3 separate regions of the Homo sapiens genome follow, and all the other regions are linked to region 2. Evidence: promoter capture Hi-C in 16 types of primary human blood cells and fetal thymus (Javierre and others, 2016). All regions are on one chromosome and are shown on one strand. The core of a region is centred on a gene start or on the middle of the fragment in contact, and the rest is flanking DNA. Distances in the headings are between cores, read along the strand shown.

What was found. The method cuts DNA at HindIII sites, captures the fragments that hold promoters and counts their contacts. A CHiCAGO score of 5 or more calls a contact.
Region 1: a contact is called between a fragment that was not itself captured here and the fragment with the promoter of MICU2 in region 2, in 2 of 17 cell types (fetal thymus and total B cells). The highest score is 6.6, in fetal thymus.
Region 3: a contact is called between the fragment with the promoter of CPAP here and the fragment with the promoter of MICU2 in region 2, in 4 of 17 cell types (total CD8 T cells, total B cells, naive CD8 T cells and 1 more). The highest score is 7.7, in total CD8 T cells.

Annotation. Positions count from the first base shown.
Region 1 is chr13:25,295,830-25,300,553 of GRCh38, reverse strand. No RefSeq gene overlaps it. Among named protein-coding and RNA genes, the nearest start is that of NUP58, 3.4 kb to the left of the region's middle. The HindIII fragment of the contact is 2,228 bases long and covers 982-3,209 here.
Region 2 is chr13:21,602,078-21,606,669 of GRCh38, reverse strand. MICU2 (mitochondrial calcium uptake 2) reads left to right here and starts at 2,500. Exons shown (of 12, transcript NM_152726.3): 1 at 2,500-2,731. The coding sequence starts at 2,522. RefSeq lists enhancers at 2,317-2,386, 2,168-2,786, 2,787-3,406 and a silencer at 2,557-2,766. The HindIII fragment of the contact is 1,411 bases long and covers 1,760-3,170 here.
Region 3 is chr13:24,919,978-24,924,745 of GRCh38, reverse strand. CPAP (centrosome assembly and centriole elongation protein) reads left to right here and starts at 1,885. Exons shown (of 17, transcript NM_018451.5): 1 at 1,885-1,985. RefSeq lists enhancers at 938-1,839, 1,840-2,741. The HindIII fragment of the contact is 2,154 bases long and covers 228-2,381 here.

The DNA.
Region 1 (4,724 bases), core at 846-3,345, 3.7 Mb before region 2:
AAAGCCCAGTGGCTCTTTAGTTTGGCACTTGATGACCTCCGTATGATTAGTCTTTCTAACCTCATCTCACAGTTCTCCCTAATTCAGTACTTTAATCTTCCGTTGAGCTTGGGCATTGCCACCAGCTGTGGACTGAACTATTTCCCTCCTCCCCCAATCCATATGTTAAAGCCCTACCCCACCCCAATATGTTGGTATTTGGAGATGGAGCCTTTGGGAGGTAATTCAATTTAGATGAGGTCACCTTGGTGGGTCGCCCATGGCGAGATTAGTGCCCTTATGAGAAAAAACAACGAAGAGCTTGTTCTCCTCTGTGTGCCATGTGAGGACAGAGCAAGAAGGGGCTTTCACCTGGAACCCAAACTGCCCCATCTTTATCTGGGACTTAGCCTCCAGAATTGAGAGAAGTAAATGTCTGTTGTTATAGCCACCTCAGTCTATGGTATTTTGTTGTATCAGCCAAGCAGACTAATACACCACCTCTGTGTTTGTATAATTAAAAAGAAACGTACATTTTATTTTGTTTTTTAAATTTAATTTATATTTTACTTTATTTTGAGACAGAGTCTCGCTCTGTTGCCCAGGCTGGAATACAGTGGTGCCATCTCGGCTCACTGCAACCTCCGTCTCCTGAGTTCAAGCGATTCTCCTGCCTCAGCCTCCCAAGTAACTGGGATCACAGGCGCACGCCACCACGCCCGGTTAATTTCTGTATTTTTCAGTAGAGATGGGTTTTCACCATGTTGGCCAGGCTGGTCTTGAACTCCTGGCCTCAAGCGATCTGCCCACCTCGGCCTCCCAAAGTGCTGGGATTACAGGCGTAAGCCACTGTGCCCGGCCATAACATTTTAAACGTCATAGAAGTCATAATGGGAATGATAAAAAAGAAAAAAGGGATATATTTGGATTAAGATATAAATAAAAACTTCATAGTTATCGAACAGGAGGCAAAAATAAAAGATTGTTGTGAGTTTTAAAGCTTCGGTGATATAGAGAAAGCTATTTTCAGTGATGGCTATAGGGTGGTCAGTAAGAGGATTGTTCACATAAAGTCTAGGAGACTTCCTTTTGACTGAAAAAAAAAAAGATCCTGATGATTTTTATGGGAAGATAGAAAGGCACTCCCTATGTCTTTTGATTTTCTCGTGTATTCTTTCCAAAACTATTGAAGAATACCAACCTACAATTAGTAATAGCAAAATGGCTGGCACTTAAATATATAATAATGAACAAGACTTGTAATATTCACAGGAAAGAAAGAACATGTAAAAATATCATAGGGACTAATTTCCTAATAGGGGAAACTGGGTGTGAGGAATATGAGCACACTATGTAATAATTCTGTAAATCTGTAACTTTTTTTTTTTTTGGATGGAGTCTCACTCTGACACCAGGCTGGAGTGCACTGGCTAGATCCTGGCTCACTGCAACCTCCGACTCCCTGGTTCAAGCGAGTCTCCTGCCTCAGCCTCCTAAGTAGCTGAGATGACAGGCATGCGCCACCATGCCCAGCTAATTTTTGTATTTTTAGTAGAGCTGGAGTTTCACCATGTTGGCCAGGATGATCTCAATCTCCTGACCTTGTGATCTGCCTGCCTCGGCCTCCCAAAGTACTGGGATTACAGGCGTAAGCCACCGCGCCCAGCCACATCTATAACTGTTTTGAAGCTGAACGTTTATAAAAGAAATAAAGGAAGTCTGACTTAGATTAAAGTTTGGGTTTTGGGGGAAGCCATTCCAATTAACAAGCAAACTATCCTTTCAACTTTATCAAAATTTTAGTGTAGCATTTCTTGCCTTGTATCTGGCAGAATATTTTAAGTTATACTACATAATAAATCCCCAAATCACTCAAGGAGGAGCACTGCAGAGACAAAATCTGGAATATCTGATGAGCAGTATTGCAATCTACCACTAGATGCACTAAGTATAAGACTAAATCTTGGAGACCCCTTCTCATCTCATATACCTTGTGCCGCTTGTCCTATTAGTGAAGAAAGAAATTACATCCTTACATTCTACAGAAATGAAACTCCAAAGAAAGCAGCTTTCAATAAGCTCAATGGTTTGGTTAGTGAATGGAAAACAGTAAAATAGCAGTAACTGAGCATTACGCATACATAAGTCTGAATCCTATCTGCAACTGAGCAGAACCATGGAGCACTGGAATCTGGCTTAACCTTCCTGACCTAGTCTAGGTAGAGTAACAAATCCTATCCCAAAGGATCTTCTAAATATTACGCTTTTTAACATTAGAGGACTTGAACCTATGTGTCAGTTCTATGTGAATTGCTGCTTCCAGGGATGAAGCAAGTGCTTCAGATTCTAAATTCTAGAGTAGGCCATCTTGTCTTTCCTTGCTTCTTATATTGTAAGCATTCTGTTAGAGAACTGCATCTTTTGCTGATTTGCCAGCAGGATGATGACATTGTTAATGTCATAATCAAACTGAATTATCCAAACAGAAATAGCACTGTAAAAAATTTACTTTTTTTTTTTCTTCCTTTTTGAGACAGGGTCTGGCTCTGTGCCCAGGCTGGAGTGCAGTGGCACCATCTTGGCTCACTGCAACCTCTGCCTGTCTGGCTCAAGCGATCCTCCCACCTCAGCCACCCGAGTAGCTCGGACTACATAAAGGTGTCCACCACCATGCCCGGCTAATTTGTTTATTTGTAAAGATGGGTTTTCACCGTGTTGCCCAGGCTAAAACTTCTAATTTGTGTTTGCATTAACATATCTAAAATAGGTTTGCTTTGGTGGGGGTGTTCAGATCAGGATAACCATTTGAGAACCTCTCTCAGCAGCGGTTCTAAGACAGAAAAGAAGTGGGAATCTGAAGTCTATTGAAAGGAGTCTGTAATATCTCCAGTTCTGGTCCTCTGAAATATCCAGAAAAGAGGTTATCTTTTAGAAATTACATGTAACCATTTGCCTTCAATCACAGTCTTTATCTTGAAAATTATTCTCAGAAAAGGTCTTAAATATTTTAGGGTTTTAAATATTTGAGTAGTGTCCTTCCACTTTAAAAATTCATTAAGTTCTCAAGTGATTGAACAACAGCAACAACCAAATGTATATAGAGAGATAAATCAATAATGCAAATTATAGGATGACTGTCAAAACAAGGTATATGGGTGTTCATTGTAATAATTTTACAACTTTTCTGTAGGTTTGAAATTTTCAAACTACAAAGTTAAGGGGGAAAAGCTTAAAGTTAAAACAAAAGTTCCCAATCACAGGTCAGAACAGTAATTGTCTATTTCCTGATGAATTTTTTCACTCATCACCCAATAAATGAGAAAAATAAATGTAAGGAGTTATCCATAAAGCTAAATGTATGTAATTCAAACTATAGTCATTTATTTTGAAATACACCCTTCCTATTGGCAGAGATGGGACCTGAAAAAGTTGCTTTTATGACTTGACAACTTTAGTGGATAAGGAAGGCTGAGAAGAGAAACTAAGCAATGTCAACATAAGATAAATGATGGACGCTGTCTTCTGGCCACCAATATTTATTCTTTCCTTCCTTCTTCCTTAAAACCTCAGTTTTCTCCAAAGTGGCAAACTAACCAGATAAACAACTATATGTCTCCAGCTTCCTCTATAGGTAGAGGTGGGTAGGAAACATGAGATGAGACTTCCAGAATCACTCATTTTCTTGGGGACAGATAGCTGGCATACATCTGTTTTGACTTTCTTCTCCTTTCTTCCTACTACCTGGAACTTAGACACAATGGCTGGATCTCCAATAGCCATCTTGGTCCATGAGTGACTTTAAGAATGGAAGTCATATGCAAAGGAGGGTATCACAAAAAAATAGTATGAGCTTAGGTCGTGATGGTATACTGTAGAGGCACCATACCAGCCCTATACTACCTACCTTCAGATTTCTTTTAAATGAGAGAAAAGTCTATTTGTATGTTATTTAGTCCATTAGAGCTGAATCTTTATTATTCATAACTAAATGTAATATACCTTTTTAGTAGGAGTTCACCCCAAAAGATGAATTTTACATGCGTTACTGAGGAAACCTAGGAAATATCCAAGATTGACAGAAGTCAATAATATATATAGGGCTGGAATATAACAATAAAAATGCCACCAACAACCTATTATGTAATTGCCTTGAAACACGCCAACAGAAAGGCAGTGGTCAACATGTAGTCTCAAAAAAATGGGAGCCAAAGAGGAACAATATATCTGCACTTATTGCTCTCACCTTTCATGGAAACAAGTCATTGTGCTTGACGGATACACATATTCTGGTCACTAGACAGATGTCCACCTCCATGAAGCAGGAGTATATTCATGTCTTTTCCATGTCATGGATAAAAGTTCCTTAAGCCTGCCCAATTCCCTTTGCTCTGAGCAGTTTCCCCATAATCTAATTAGACCTCTTTTATTGCTAAGAATAGGAACTCTCTCAAGGTAGTTCAAGCATAAGTGTGTGCATATATGGGGGAGGTGTGGGAACACAGAGTTATTGTATAGACACAGACAAGTTTCAAGGGAATCCAGAAAAACAGGAGTAGCCAAGCTTTGTGTATATCAGAAACCAAGAGTCAGCTTGTAAGAAATGAACTAGAGAGAGCTGCACCTACTTCAGGGAATTAAGGCATTCTGCAAGCCCCAGAGGTTGGATGAAGGGTTAAGTAATTGACTGAGTTGCCCAAGGGAGAAAGAGGAGGCATTCAGGCATCTGCTGCACACAAATCAGTGAT
Region 2 (4,592 bases), core at 1,251-3,750:
GAAAAAAAGAGCAGGAGTAAGTGAATTAAGAATACTTTGAAACAATAAGTATTTCCATCCTGTTTTCGTCCAGTTATTTAAAACAGCATACAATGTACAGCTTTAGAAGCAGCTTCTTATTTGGGGGTTGGTTTATAAACTGCATGGTTGAAAATACATCCCAGCCCAGGACTTTACAGCTGATGATGAAGAAATGAACAAAGCTGGAGCCCAAAAAGACCAATATAGTCAATGTGCTTAGACAAATGTCAGCAGCTGCCAAGGAAGATTTCATACTTAGAATGGTTATTCGACTAGAGATTGGTTCTATTATAAGAATTTGTTTCCTCTGCATAAGAAAAGTTTGAATACATTAAATTATAAGTGAGAGTTCTAGATGCCTGGGCACATAATGAAAATTTAAAAAATAACTAATTACACTGTTTTCCAAGTGGGTTCAAAGATTTTTGGCAAAATAAAAAGAAGCTTTTGTTTTGAAAATAAAGTACCCCAAAGGAATAATATACTTCTGTATTTTGGATGGCCAAAGCATAGAAATATGAACCCCTGAGTTTCATTTGTGCCATTTATTTATTCACTTATTTACTCACTCATTGAATGTCTATTACGTGCTGGGCATTGTGCTAGGTGCTAGAGAAACAGGGAAAAGGAAGACATCTCACCCACAAGGATGTCAAATTGTGGGAGAAAGACAATGTTCTTAAATATGCTACATGTTTTAATGGGAATCTAAACTTATCTTGGGCTTAAGGCAATACTGAGTAATAGATGCCAGGTTTCATTAAATACCTAGAGGAACTGTGTGAGGCAGTTAGAAGTATACACGTAAAGACTGTGGTTTCTGGAAATCAAGAATAAACTACAAGGTAAGACATCCAGGGTGTCCAAAATATCCTGGAAGTCCTATTATCACCAGGAAACAAGCTAGATGTCAATAGTCCAGAAAAGCAGGACATGTGCCAAAGCTACCAGAGTTAGCAGAGGTGAAAAACAGTCCAGAGGTTGACAAAGTCAGGCTAGATACAAAAAAGCAGGAAAATCTCAGGTTAAGATGGGCTAGTGATCTGGAATCATGGACATTCAGTCAAGCTCATTTGTGTTCACAGGGCAGAAGTAAACCAAACCTTGACCACAGTAAACGCACATCTGTCATGAGCCTACCATGTGCCAGGCATTTGGCTAGTCACTTTATATAAAATATCTCATTTAGCTTCCCCACCCCAAACTGTAAGAGGGTTGTTCACAGATGAAAAAATTGAGACTCAAAGAGATTAAATACCTTACCCCAAATAGCAGTGATCATCTACCAAATCGTGAGTTATTTACAAATGAGAAAATGGAGACTCAGAGAGATTAAATAATTTGCCCCAAACCACAGTGATCATCCTGGTAGAGCTAAGATTCAAACCTTGAGGTCTGGCTCACAAGTCGGTGAAGTGAGGCTCATCTCTCTACTTCCTACCTGGGAAGGCACACTGAAAAGTAAGTCCAGAAGCTGACGGAAAAGTGAGGAACCTCTGACTGCAGATTAATTTAGACAAGCGGGCTAAGAGAAAGGGAGCAAGGATTAAGGGCAGATAATAACAAAGGGATCCACGGAACTTCCACTGAATGATCAAATTAGATTTCGTGTGACAGGTTTTTGTTTTTGTTTCTTGAAGTTTTGTTTTGTGCAAAACTTCAAGACAGCAGTGATTATGTGATTAGGAGTCTTGGCCCCTTTGATGTTGGCTCCGTTACTGCATGCCCAACTAAAGCTTCTAATAGCTGGGGACATTTCAGAGGCTGAACAAAGAGTTTATTAAAAAGAGTTACTCAGGAAAAGTGAAGACCAAAGAATGGAGGATTGGAGGCTGTTAAATAAAACCAAGTAGTCTGCCTCAGCTACATCACTTATCACCAATGCAACAGCCAGGACTGGAGGTATCGTTCTAAATCTGCACTGGGGAAAACCTCTGGGTCCCTGATGATAGAGACATGGGGCTGGTGTGCTGCTGTCTCTGACTTTTAGTTCTAGGTAGGATAAGAGCTACTATCAAACCTTTTGTTGAAACTGAATTTAAATTCATTATAAGCAAATAGTGAGGGACTGAAATAAACAGAATGCCTTGTCTGAGAGTTGTTTTAGCAGAAATGAAAGAACAGTCAAGACTATAAGCATAGGAAGACATGAACAACACAGATGCAGAAGAGACTATTTCAAAAAACGTTTCACAGTTTTACAAGGTGAAAAAATGAAAAGGAGAAACCTGCCCACACAACCGAGGGCACTATCTTGTTTTGGACTAGGAAGTCATATTATACTGTCTTGATACTCTTCCTGTCATCCCATCCCCACAGCCTTAGAAGGCAGCCCCGGAACCGAAGGCCACCTCTTGCGGCTGCGAGCGTCGCCTCAGCAACCGCACCCACGGCGCAGGCCCGGTAGGCGGGGCGGAAGCCTGTCGGATGTCGCGAGAGTTCCCAAGCGGTAGGCGGCGGCGCCGGGAGAGAAGCGCCGCCTAGCTGCGCTTCCGCAAAGATGGCGGCGGCTGCGGGTAGCTGCGCGCGGGTGGCGGCCTGGGGCGGAAAACTGCGACGGGGGCTCGCTGTCAGCCGACAGGCTGTGCGGAGTCCCGGCCCCTTGGCAGCGGCAGTGGCCGGCGCGGCCCTGGCAGGAGCAGGAGCGGCCTGGCACCACAGCCGCGTCAGTGTTGCGGCGCGGGATGGCAGTTTTACAGTCTCCGCACAGGTACAGGACTAACTCCTTCTGCTAGCCCCAGTCAAGCTCCTCCCTCCCCTGACGCCCTTAGGCGGGGAGTGGTTTGGCTCTGGGCGGCTCTCCCGGAGCCGTGGGTGGAGGTGCCGCTGCGGATCGGAGCGCCCTGCGACTGGTGGGACTCGCTCCTTCCTGGACCGGCCCCCGGCCTGAGTCCCCGAGGGCCTTCGAGGCTGGTGACCGGAGATTCTGCCTCCCTTGGGAGAACCCCGCGGACGCTGAACACCACGGCCCACAAAACTGGCCGCACTAATTTAGTGGTGATGAGTGTGGGCGTGTCTTAATTCGAGGCTCCTAATTCAGAATCTCACTGCGCCTCGCCTCTTGCTACCTCTCTGGTCAGTGAAGTGGCATTCACATCCGCAGGTGGTTTGCGTCCAGTTACCCCTGTGGGATATACCTTTGTTAAGCTTTGCAACTAAGTTTTACGATCTTTTCTTTGTATAGCATGATGAAGTTCTGTCGATTGCTTTTTTAAGTCACGAATGTGTCAGCCACAAAAATTAACCAGTTGATTTCCAGATTTTATTATCAACTTTAAGGAACATTATTGCATGATTATAAACCTTAATATCTTAGTGGACCATAAGTTCTAAGCAAAAATTGCTCCTAAAACCTCCATCTATTAAAGACAAGAGTCCGCCGGGCGCGGTGGCACACGCCTTTAATCCCAGGGCTTTGGGAGGCCGAGGCGGGTGGATCTCCTGAGGTCAGGAGTTCGAGACCAGCCTGGCCAACATGGTGAAGCCGCTCCCCACCCCAGCCCCGCCCCCCCGGTCTCTACTAAAAAATATAAACAATTAGCTGGGTGTGGTGGCGGGAGGCTGAAGTAGGAGAACCGCTTGAATCCGGGAGGCGGAGGTTGCAGTGAGCCAAGATCGAGCCATTGCACTCCAGCCTGAGCTACAAGAGCGAAACTCCGTCTCAAAAAAAAAAAAAAAAGATTCAAGTTCCCTATTTCAGGATAAATGATGTTGTAACGCATTTGAAAATTTGAATGAGTAGTGCTTTAAAATTTTTGTAGACTTAGTAAGTTTTTACATATGAGCTTTTTTGAAAATTGAAAGTAGTAGTTTATTATTTTCTTTTTTAGATTTACATTATGCCTTTCTAGCGAAAAACTCAAGGAACATTCAGATACAACAAAAAAGAGAGGAAAGAAGGCCTTGTGAGTTAAAATTAAGTATTGGCAACTGATATTCCTTATTTGTATTAACATACATTATAATTATATTGTAAACATATATAATGGAAAGATCTATTATCTAGTGTTTTTATAGCATTTTTGTGAATCTTGTGCCAAGGAGTTCAGTGTATTCATCATTAGTTTCTCTCCCCTAGATTCATCCTGGTTTTTTTGTTTGTTTTTTGTTTTTGTTTTTGTTTTTTTTGAGAGGAGTCTCGCTCTGTCGCCCAGGCCGGACTGCAGTGGCGCTATCTCGGCTTACTGCAAGCTCCGCCTCCCGGGTTCACGCCATTCTCCTGCCTCAGCCTCCCGAGTAGCTGGGACTACAGGCGCCCGCCATCGCGCCCGGCTAATTTTTTGTGTTTTTAGTAGAGACGGGGTTTCACCGTATTAGCCAGGATGGTCTCGATCTCCTGACCTCGTGATCCGCCCGCCTTGGCCTCCCTAAGTGCTGGAATTACAGGCGTGAGCCACTGCGCCCGGCCGATTCATCCTGTTTTTAAGACCCTTAGGTTAATCTTCTCCGGAGTATCACTTTAACCACACAGTGTACCCTTCTTCAGAAACCCTTCTTCAGTGTCTCATTTTGCCAAGAGTAAAATGCACTTTTTTTTTGTTGTTGAGATGGAGTCTCTGTCACCCAGGCTG
Region 3 (4,768 bases), core at 636-3,135, 3.3 Mb before region 2:
CTTGACTCCTATGATGGCATAAAGAATTGTATCAGAACGGGTAATCTGGCATTAAAACCCCTGTGCCACAACCGTTAGTCTAATTTTTCTCTACAGCACCATCTGAAGATGCAACAAGGATAGGAACCACTGATAAGGTAGAACATTTTATTGTCTGGCAGAGTAGAAGATGGAAGTTCCTCCCCACTAGCCTTTCCACCTTGTAATGGATTTGAACCCTTGAAGCTTAGTGGGCAGTTTTGAGAATTACATGGGCTACAGGTGAAAACTTACACATTATAACCTTAATTTAACAGCCAGTTAAGACTTGAGTGTGGTAAAAGATTCATTTATTTATTCAATCAACAAACAATGTGGCACTACATACTATATTAAAATAAAAACATACGAATAAAATATAGGCACAAAAATAGAGGATATTGCGACTATCCTTAAAGATACACATTTTAGGAAGAATGATGAGACTTTTGGGCATGCTTTCAAGCCAAAGGGCTATCATAAATGAAAAGGAAGATTGTTTGGGTCCTTGTCTGGCATCTTAAGTAGCTGTGTGATCTCGGAAGTCTCGGGCTTTAGCTTCCTCACCCACAGTGAAAATTAAAAAGAAAAATTGGGCCGGGCGCGGTGGCTCACGCCTGTAATTCCAGCACTTTGGGAGGCCGAGGCGGGCGGATCACGAGGTCAGAAGATCAAGACCATCCTGGCTAACACGGTGAAACCCCTTCTCTACTAAAAATAAAAATAAAAAAATTAGCCAGGCGTGGTGGCGGGCGCCTGTAATCCCAGCTACTCGGGAGGCTGAGGCAGGAGAATGGCGTGAACCCGGCAGGCAGAGCTTGCAGTGAGCGGAGATCGCGCCATTGTACTCCAGCCTGGGCAACAGAGCGAGACTCCATCTCAAAAAATAAAAATTAAAAAAAGAAAAGAAAAATTGAAAAAAGAAGCAAAACCGAAATCTTGATTTAGAGAAGTAGACTCTTTTTGAAGTAGAAAGCAAAACAAATTTTGGAGGACCAAATTTCTGTGAAATAGTTTTGTCTTTAGCAGTCGTTTGTTTCAGTTATAACGGTTATAAATGGCACTTCATTTGATTTCTTTAAACATTTTACTTGGCCTGCTGTTTAATCAGACATGGAAGCCAGGTATGTAGTACTGTGGTAACTCACGGTGCTGTAACTTCCTAGATTAAAGGGCCGTGGCAGTTAAAACGAAACAAAACAAAAAAATTTCTTGAATTCTGCACTGTCAGTATTCAAACTAGTTTCAGAATCTAATGGACACACTCTGCCAAACCACCGATTAGCCATTTGAGGAGAGATGAAAGATGCCTATTTTTGGAGTGAATTCTCATAGGGTTATTTTCGTCTTACGAAATGGTGTAGCGGACTGCCCTTTTTCTCCTTTACTAAGTCACCTCAGCCAAAGCGGAAAACAAAGAAAAAAACCAAACCAAACCAAAAAAACGACAAAATAGACCGTACGCAAATAGAAAAAAAAAAAACAAAACCCAAAACACCTCCTTTAAGCGTCGGTTGGGCTCTATGTTAGCTTTGACTCTCCGTGCTCCCTGCTTTGCTGGGAACACGGAGATCCATCGCTCCGTTAGGCGTTCCCTTTAGTTTTCTAAGTGTGGGAGCCTGGGGCGACGTCCACCACGGAAGGTCTCTCCCGGAAACGGTTTTCCGCCCCGCCACGCCGCCCGCCTACGTCGACCACTGGCCCGCTGCTGGTCGGAAGGCGGCGCGCAGTCCATCCCCCGCCGGGCAACGCCCGTCGCTGTGGCGTCACTGGGAGTTGTAGTTTCACTGGGCTCAGCGGTGCCTGCGCTTTAGCGCAGACGCGCGGGTGAGATCCTCACTTCCCACAGGACCTCGGGACGGGGGCGGGGCTCCGACAGAGGCGGCGATTGTGGCGGCCCATTTGTAAATGCTGCGGAGATTGAGGTGTCGGTTCGTGCTGCTGAGCTGCCCAGGCTTCACGGAGCGGTAATTTGTGGGCGAAAAGAGCGGAGGAGCTCTTTGTCCGCCGCCCTGCGCCGGAGATGGACGGCGGTGGGCGGGCAGGACTCTGCTCGGACCTCGGGGTTGGCTCGGCGGGGCGAGGAGGGAGCGGGGCGCCGGGACGCGCTCAGGCCCACGGGCGCGCTGAGGCCCACGGCAGTTCAGTGGCTTCGTTCATTCGCGCTGCTTTGTTCTTCGCAGAGCTGGGGAAGCCGGCCTCTCTGGGGTGTCTGTCTCTCTGACCTGGCTGTGGCGGAACTTGAGTTCCTGTGGGCAGCGCGGCAGCCGCAGTCCGCTGGAGCAGGGTGGTGAAGTAGCGTTGCTGGCTGTCCTAAGGGCCGGTCTTGCCCCAGCTTTGTCAAGGGCTTCTCTCTTGAAGCTTCGTGTGGATTCATGGCTTTCAAGAACGTGTTGTATTTTAGGGGACTGCTAAATCACTTCCCAGACCAACTAGTTACTTCTCACGGTCTAAGAGTGGCTTTGAATTTGCTGTTTGTATCCACTCTCCTCCCTCACCGTGCAGAGAATTTATCTTTTTTTCAATACTGCTTTAAAGAATGTTTACATAGCACTTTCTGGAGATTTCAAGGCTGTCAGTTTGTTACATTTTTTAAAAGTTTTATTGAGGTATAATTGCTATACAATAAAAATGGCACATGTTTAAATGCATTCCATTTGATGAGTTTGACATACACGTGCACCCGTGTCCTTCAGATTTTGATATCTGTAAAGTCTGAGTCCACATACTAATCCTATCTCGGCATATATATTATCAATGCTCCCTTTACCAAGACCTCAGTATCAATAATAAGTAGCAGGTTCTGGTGACGCTTTTTTTATACTTCATGCTGACATTAAATATATTTTTAGAATCGCGGTCATGAAATTGAAGGTATAGAAGGTGTGTTTGGTGGGGAGTTGGAGGAGGAGATGCAAAAGTCTGGCTGCTGCATCCCAAGACTGCTTGCACTTGTCAGTCTAGTAGGGAATTTTTCTAGTTTTCCATATTATGAAATGACCTTGTAGTTTGTCTCCCTTCTGAATTTGGATTTCGAAAGATTTTCTGCTAAGGTCATTGAAATTAAGCAAAGTTACGTGGTTGATTTTGAAAAAAAAAAAGTCATTACTTTTTTAGATTGGTTTCCTACTGAAAAACAATTTGCTTAGAAAAAGTTTTTACAAATTATTCAGGAATAACAGATATCCAGTAAAGTGCGCTAATCTTAAGTGTACAGCCTAAGTGTATCCACCCCCTGTATTAACCTTCCCAGTTGTTGAAGTCAAAAATTTGGAGATGAATCTCTTAAGTTTAACGTTTTATTTGGGAAGAAAGAATGGCGGTTCCAGGCGTACAGACCAGGTGGTCTTCAGTATGTCCAAAGAACAAAGAGAAAGCTGGAGGTTTTATAAAAAAGAGAATTGTTATATCTGTCGCTCTTCGAGAAAGTTCATTGGTTCTCCTAAGGTTCTGGGGAGGCAGCAGGTCCTACCGAGTGGGCCATGGTGGAGGGCAAAATTAGTCCTACAATTGCAGCAAGTTACCTCAGCATCTATAGATCAAATTGGTCTCGGGTTACAACCGGCAGTTTCAGCATACTGACTTATAGAGAATTCCATTCTTGGAGCAAAGTTGTGTGTCCTGAGTGCCTTTCCCTCTTGACTTCTTGATTGTTTAGTTGGCTATAAGAATGACTCAATTTGTATGATCAACTTTCACACAGACAGGACAACTCCCATTTTCCTGGATAACGACCAATATGCCATTTATAACTATGGGTTTATTTTGCCTGTTCTTCAGCTTCATATACATGGAAACATGGGCCAGGTGCGGTGGCTCATGCCTGTAATCCCAGCATTTTGGGAGGCTAAGCCAGGTGGATCACTTGAGGTCAGGAGTTTGAGAACAACCTGACTAACATAGTGAAACCCCGTCTCTACTAAAAATACAAAAAAAAAAAAAAGCCAGGTATGGTGGTGCATGCTTGTAGTCCCAGCTACTCTGGAGGCTGAGGTGGGTGAATCGCTTGAACCCGGGAGGCTGAGGTTGCAGTGAGCCAAGATCACACCACTGCACTCTAGCCTGGGCAACAGAGTGAGACTCCATCTCAAAAAAAAAAAAAAAAAAAGGAATCATATTTGTCTGATGTTCACACATCATTATTTATTTTTGTTACTGCCTGTGGCAGCAATTTTTGTTTTTTTAAATGCCTGAATAGCTGTGGTTCTCAAAGTGTGATACAGTGAGAAAATGTACATCACATTGGCATTTTTGTTTTTGGTTATTAAATGGTTGGCAGGCAATCATCTTGTTCCAAGAAAATCTTCAGTTGCAATTAATGGTACAGTAAGCCTTTATACAACTCTTCTACAACTCAACCAGGGAGCGATGGCAAAAACACAGTATCATTATGTTCACTGTCTTCTATGTCTTTTAACAGTTCTATAAACTGGCAGTTGATAGCATTTGTACATACTGAACAATTGTAACAACTATATTCATGATACTATTCGTGGATTATGCTTCAGAAAACCAAACACAAGAATTTTCAATGTGTATTATACAGGGGAATGAATCAGCGAGGGAAACAGCAGTCTCTTGTTGTAAAATCCCATTAAATTCAGATTTTTTGCCTTATAGAATGACACCATCTGTCATGATAGAAACTGATTTTTAGGCTGGGCGCAGTGACTCACACCTGTAATACCAGCACTTTGGGAGGCCGAAGCAGGAGGATGGCTTGAGCCTAGGAGTTCAAGATCAGCCTGGG